Linked DNA regions of Homo sapiens: region 2 is linked to region 1. The links are contacts of gene promoters, found by promoter capture Hi-C in blood cells and fetal thymus (Javierre and others, 2016). All regions are on one chromosome and are shown on one strand. Each heading gives the region's core, a stretch centred on a gene start or on the middle of the fragment in contact. The rest is flanking DNA. Distances are from core to core; before and after follow the strand shown.

Region 1 (3,297 bases), core at 307-2,806:
ATCAATTTGTAAGATGTTCCATTTTAAATGCACCAATCAACTATAAAATACATACTGAATTTCAAAAGTATTAGAATGAAAAAAAAATGTCTCTTAGAAATGGGATATGAACTGTGAGCCTGAGCAGATTACTTAACCTTTCTAAGTCTCGGTTTTCTCATCTGTAAAATGGGGATGATAGTAGCCGCTGCCTCATAGTTTTCTGTGAAAATTAATTAATACATTGCAGGTAAAGCAGAAAACACCATGCTTAGGGAATTGAAAGCACTCAATATTTGCATTTTTAAAAACTATGTCTTTAGTCAAGCATAACTCTTTTAAAATGCCATTAACTATAGGAGGAAGAATCAGTGTTGTAACATTTTGCTATTCCTTGAGTACAATCTATGTGTACTAAGAAAAGACATCATTGGTAACACAACTACCAAGCTTATCTAGGGATCAGCTATCTCAAGATAGGCATAGCAATTGCTGGATGCCATATGATTTCCATGTATTTTATTTCTCCAATAGCACTCACATTCTTTGGGAGCTGTATTCTAATACTTTCAGAAAAGCCATGGGAACACACCAGAGTGACTGCTCGAGTAAATAAGTAGCATAAACAGCAAGCCAAACCATTGATGTACACATCACTGGGCCCAATACTATGAAATCCCACATAAGAAACTTGAAAGTGAAAGCTGGAATTCTGAGGATACTGGTTTTGCTTAATAAACAGCATTTCAACAGGTGAGTCAACTTAGTATTGCAGAGCGTGGTGTTGGCTTTTTTCTGATTGGGGCTAGTTTTTCATTAAAGGCAATATCTAGCACTGAAATAGACAACAGTACCTAGTCCCAACCACCTGCTTCCTGGTGAGTCAGTTCAAGTTCTCACAATTGTGTCTGTGTCCAGCCCCAGACCAGCTGAGCTGGGTCATGTGCTCACCCAGATCTTTCCCTAAAAGAGGACTGACAGGGAAACCACTGCCCTCTTTCACATCCAGGGAAGGAGTGACTTCTAAGAGAAATAGGGTTTTGTTTCCTCGCCAAAGTGTCAGGAATGATCAAATGTGAAAAACAGAGGGCAAATCCGTGTTAGTGCGTCATTAGGTGGGTGTTTCTAAAGTGATCACATGGTAACACTTCCTCTGCTCGCTGACCCACCAGGAGTGTTTTGGAAACAGTCAGCCCACGTGAAATGGGCTGAAGACATCCCAGTGTCCTCCTCTCAGAAGCTGTGAGCCCCAGTCAGGGCGGGCTGTCTTAGCCTGTAAACGTCCACAGGGCCAGAGCCTATATTTAACTGATGACACATCTTACAAGGGGGAAGGGAAGGGGAATCTGTGACCCTGTTTCCTCCCACCAACACCAGCCCATTCACACAGAGTCTTTTGAAGGTCTCACTGGCAGTACTCCTTCAAACTTACCCAATATGCCCCACTCAAAGGCCCTCCCAGGCTTGTGGGAACAGAAAGATTTCTTGAAATGGAAAGGAGGGTTGTGAATGAGTGAGGAAATTCAGCATGGAGATATGAGAGGCTCACTCTTTAGCCACACGGAACCGGGGACTCCAAGGCAACCCCATTCCCAGAGTTCTTTCGAGGGTGGGGCTAATGACATGGGACCAAGAATTGACTCCAGGAAAGGGCATGGTGATGTGTGGCCTCCCAGACAGCCTCAGAGCAAGCAGGTGGATTTGACTTAGGCTGTGGGGAAGGCAACAGCCTCTGTATATTTTTCCATCTTGATGCTGAGTCAGACAAGGCAGTTAGTGGTTCTTTCCAGAATCCCTGCCAGCCTTTTAAAGAAAAAGTCTTTGCAGATTTTGCTTTAGTCCATCTCTGCCAAGGGGTCATTTTCTATGTTGTACTTCCTCCCTATGTGAGGGCAAGGATAATGTAGCCTTGTGTAGACTGTATATACGCTTCAGTTCCTAGCTAAGCCACATTGAGACCTCAGTAAAACAGGTTTGATTGCAATCAGAAAAGAGTTGATTTGAGATTTAAAGGAAATGACATGGATACAGTGCTCACCAGAAAGTATTAAAATGGTATTTGTTGCTTATTATTGGTAGTTATTGTCATGATATTGCTACTGATGCTGAACAAAGACCCAAGAACCAGGGTGATGTTTAGCATGGGCTGGCCTCAGCAGGACTGAAAGGACATCAATAAGGGAGAACAGAGAGAAGGAAGGAGGACAAGTGCCAACTTTGAGCAGGTATCAGGTGTATGTGGGGGCAAACCATTTCTCCGTCCACCCTGATGATGAGTCCCCGTTTCCCTTTTTAAGGCCTGATTTTTGCACCCTCACCCCACCTAAGGCAGCCAGGGGCCCACACTGCAATACTCCTAGGTAACATCCATACTTTTTTTTTTTTTTTGAGATAGAGTCTCCCACTGTCACCCAGGTTGGAGTGCAATGGCGAGATCTCGGCTCACTGCAACCTCCGCCTCTCAGGTTCACGTGATTCTCCTGCCTCAGCCTCCAGAGTAGCTGGGATTACAGGCGCACACCACCATACCCGGCTAATTTTTTGTATTTTTGGTAGAGACAGGGTTTCACTATGTTGGCCAGACTGGCGTCGAACTCCTGACCTCGTGATCTGCCCGCCTCGGCCTCCCAAAGTGCTGGGATTACAGGCGTGAGCCACTGTGCCTGGCCAACATCCATACTCTTGATCTGTTCCTCCACCCACAGCACTGCTTATCTGGCCAGGCTCTCGTTCCTTCATTACACAGCTTTCTGCTGGGAAGCAGATAACTAATATAAAGATGATACTAACGATTAATGGAGGCTTCATGGAGTCTCCCAGAAATATCACGTTTGTGGTTAATATTCCAAAGGCTACTGGTAGGGATTTCTCAATCTAACATGAGTCTGAAAAAGAGATGATTTTCATCAGAGCTATTCTCGGGACTCTTTAAATCAGGCCCTCAAGTGCTTATCTTCTTTGCCTATGTTTAGAGTCAATCCTTAAAGCAAGTAAACAGTGTCCCCATATATTTAGGAATTCTCAAAATCCTTGGATTTGTTCATACTAAGCTACTGTTATACTCATTTTTTAAAAAAATTTTGGGCTCACTTTTCACCATCTGCATAATGGGCATATAACATAAATCCATTCTGTATCACTTAATCATGTCTTATCCTAGATGAATAAACACATGAAAAATCAGCCTGTAAATCAGAGAATGTAGCTGTGTTAACTGGAGATGGGAAAGGGGAGCAGGTAGAATTAATATTACCATTAGTCATGACTAAAGCCAAACTTAGCAGTTTTAAAACTATTTAACCATCCTGATTGTATATT
Region 2 (3,297 bases), core at 574-3,073, 340 kb after region 1:
CCAAATTGTTGGGATTACAGGTGTGAGCCACAGCACACAGACTAAATCTTTTTTCTTTATAAATTACCCAGTCTCAGGTATTTCTTTATGTCAATGCATGAATGGCCTAATTACGTGTTCCAATTACATGTGTTTCAAATATCTTCTCCCTGTTGTAGTTATCATTTTCATTATAGTGTCTTTTGATAAACGAAGTTTCTTATTTTTATTTCATTGGCTTTTACCAACTGTTTTTATGGTTCATGCTTTTTATATCCTGTTTAAAAACCCTTCCCTACTCTAAAGTCATAAGGGTTTTTCCCTATATTATATTCTAAGAGTTTTATAGTTTGACTCTCACATTTAATCTACCTGGAGTAGATTTTTGGGTCTGCAGTAGGGATCTAATTTTTTTTTCCAAACAGATAACTGTCCCAGTACCATTTACTGATAAAAACTCCTCTTCCCCACTGATACGCAATGCTAGCCCTGGCCCAGTCAAATTTCCACATACATAAGTCCAAATCTAAGGTTGCTTTCAGTTCTAAAATATTATTCAACTGAAGGCACTAAAACTTCTTGTTAAGACAGATCATCAATTAGTTGTAACTTGAAGAAATTTTTTTAAAGAAAAGACACCCAATGCCAAGAGAATCCTGACTTCAGAAACATAACAACAACAAAAAAATACTACAGAGTTCAAAGAACCTGGGCTCTCATTCCCATTCTAGAATTTGCTGAGTATTTAAGATCAGACGTTCTCCAGAAGGCTATGACATTCTAAGTTGTCAAAAAAAGGTACTCGAAAAAGGATAAAAAAGAGCTACCTTTCTCCCATGTCTAAACATCACATTTATGGGAAAGTTTACAAAATTACACTAAATAATATTTAAAAGATCATAAACAGAGGTATAACTTAAATAAATCATTCCAAATTTTAGTTTTATATCTAGTGGTCATGAGGAATTTTTGCTCTAGCTTCTAGTATTATTTCTACTACAGTTTTGTGCTCAAAAGACACCTGTTAATGTCATACATAGTGGTTTTATGATCTGCGTACCATCTAATTAAAGACCCAGTAAAAGTGAAGAGTATTTTAAAAAGGAGCCTTTTTATAACTGAACACTGCTAAAATCTCACATAGAAATTTGGCTCAGTACATACTGGATAAAATTTAACTCAAGGTAAGATTTTCAACTAATAAAATCACCTTTAATTTGGGCATATTTATTTTACATTATTAGTACTCTTTTTTTGTTTGTTTTTTGAGGCGGAGTCTCGTTCTGTCGCCCAGGCTGGAGTGCAGTGGCACAATCTCGGCTCACTGCAAGCTCCGCCTCCCGGGTTCACGCCATTCTCCTGCCTCAGCCTCCAGAGTAGCTGGGACTACAGGCGCCCACCACCGTGCCCGGCTAATTTTTTGTATTTTTAGTAGAGACGGCGTTTCACCGTGTTAGCCAGGATGGTCTCGATCTCCTGACCTCGTGATCCACCCACCCCGGCCTCCCAAAGTGCTGGGATTACAGACGTGAGCCACCGCGCCCAGCCTTATTAGTACTCTTTTGAATAGCCACAAAAGTACAAAATATATCTGAATAATTTTCAGCCAAGTATAGACACAACTCCAACTAAGCACCTTTATTAAAGCCAATTTATAAAACATTTTAAAATATAAATGTCCTTGATTAACACTGAGAAAAAATGTAAATGTTTAAAATATTCATGCATTAGTAAATATGACGGTTTTCTAATCACCTATTTTTGATATAAAAAAATTTAATGCCATGTCAATTTTGTTATAAGAAGGGTTTCTTCTTATCATTGAGTAAACAAAGAGTGTAAAGAGAAAATCTGATATCTATTGAGTTGTCCACAATTCCACTGGTTAATTTGTTCACAAAATAAATGTGCTGACATGGACACAGTGGCAGAGCAGACACTGGAGACTCAGAAGGGTGGTAGTGTGAGAGGTGGGACAGGGTTGAGAAATTACCTAATGGGTACAATGTACACTATTCAGGTGACGGTTACACTAAAAGCTCAGATTTCACCATTTCACAATATAATCATGTAACAAAACTGCACTGCACTCCCTAAATCTATATAAATAAAAAATAATCATTTCTATATTTCAAGATCCCTCTATTCTTTCCTTTAATGTGCTTTAGTAACAACAAAAAAACTTATTTTAGGCCATGGTAGTTCATTGGCAGGGTATTAGAAATTGGGCACTAGAGAATAACATACTTTTGTAAAAATCTACCATGTTCCCACTCCTAGATATGCCATAGATAGTTCTCACCACAGCGTTTACTCATGCATTCAACAAATATTAATTAAATACCTACTATGTCTTAGGCACTATGCTAAACACTAGGGATACAAAGATTAGTCAGAGTTCCTACACTCAAGGGCCTTATGATCCAGTATGTCATCTCAGAAGAATAAGATAGCTGGAGAGGATACAGAGATGAATATCTAATGGTAAATACAGTGGCTCCTAAAGAAGTGTTGACTCCAGATATTAACACTTTTTCAAGACAATAAGATAATGCAGAATGAAGATGAGACATAAACTCTTTTAAAGATTATTTATTCAAGGTTGAGATAAGGTGAATACATTGAATAATTTTTTATTCAAAAAATTTCCAAGTACTAAAATTAAAAAGATGCTTTCCAAATTTGCAAACAGTTAAACATAGGATAATAAAAGCAAGTACTATCTGTGTAAAAGAAAGAACTAATGATTTAACAGGCAGTGGTATATAAAATATGAAAATACAAATTGGTTTTAAAAAGTTATAAATTAATGAATTCCATGAAATTTTACCACCATACGATCTAGTCTAAAATAAATGGACCCTTATGTACGTATTTCATTCTCTTACACAATAGACTCTGCAAATGAAAAGGAATAATCACATTGTATATTCTTGGAAACTGGCTGTCCCTGCATATCATCAGTGATTTCGCAGCAGTAAACTATAAAGCAAGCAATTAAAATTCGAGCCCTCAACAAAAACTTTCAAATTAAAATCATTTTTCAAACCTCGAAGTTGAACAAAGTCTAAGTTTTAGAAATATTCAACTCTATACAGAGTGATAGAGAATATGTTAAAATATAACCCTATAACATTTAAGTTACTTTGGTCACTACCCCAGCTCAAAAAACCAACCATTAATAGTTATGGGCTTTCTTATTATTTGGAGTATTCAATTTTAAACCAAATCATAATATATACATGAACTGGCAGTCATCTTTCATTGAAATTCTAATTAGGTAAATGTGGCATTGTCCTATGAGAAAATATGTAGTTT

The links. Contacts are between HindIII fragments. The CHiCAGO score rates a contact against its expected background, and 5 or more counts as called.
Region 2: a fragment that was not itself captured here is called in contact with the fragment with the promoter of LINC01888 in region 1 in 10 of 17 cell types (naive CD4 T cells, total CD4 T cells, total B cells and 7 more); the score reaches 9.5 in naive CD4 T cells.

The regions. Positions count from the first base shown.
Region 1 is chr2:68,830,267-68,833,563 of GRCh38, reverse strand. LINC01888 (long intergenic non-protein coding RNA 1888) reads right to left here and starts at 1,556. Exons shown (of 2, transcript NR_183895.1): 1 at 1,412-1,556. LINC01890 (long intergenic non-protein coding RNA 1890) reads left to right here. Exons shown (of 4, transcript NR_183884.1): 2 at 514-732; 3 at 2,059-2,204. The HindIII fragment of the contact is 9,437 bases long and covers 432-3,297 here.
Region 2 is chr2:68,490,427-68,493,723 of GRCh38, reverse strand. The region is part of intron 2 of APLF (aprataxin and PNKP like factor); the gene reads right to left. Among named protein-coding and RNA genes, the nearest start is that of APLF, 24 kb to the right of the region's middle. The HindIII fragment of the contact is 4,870 bases long and covers 1-3,297 here.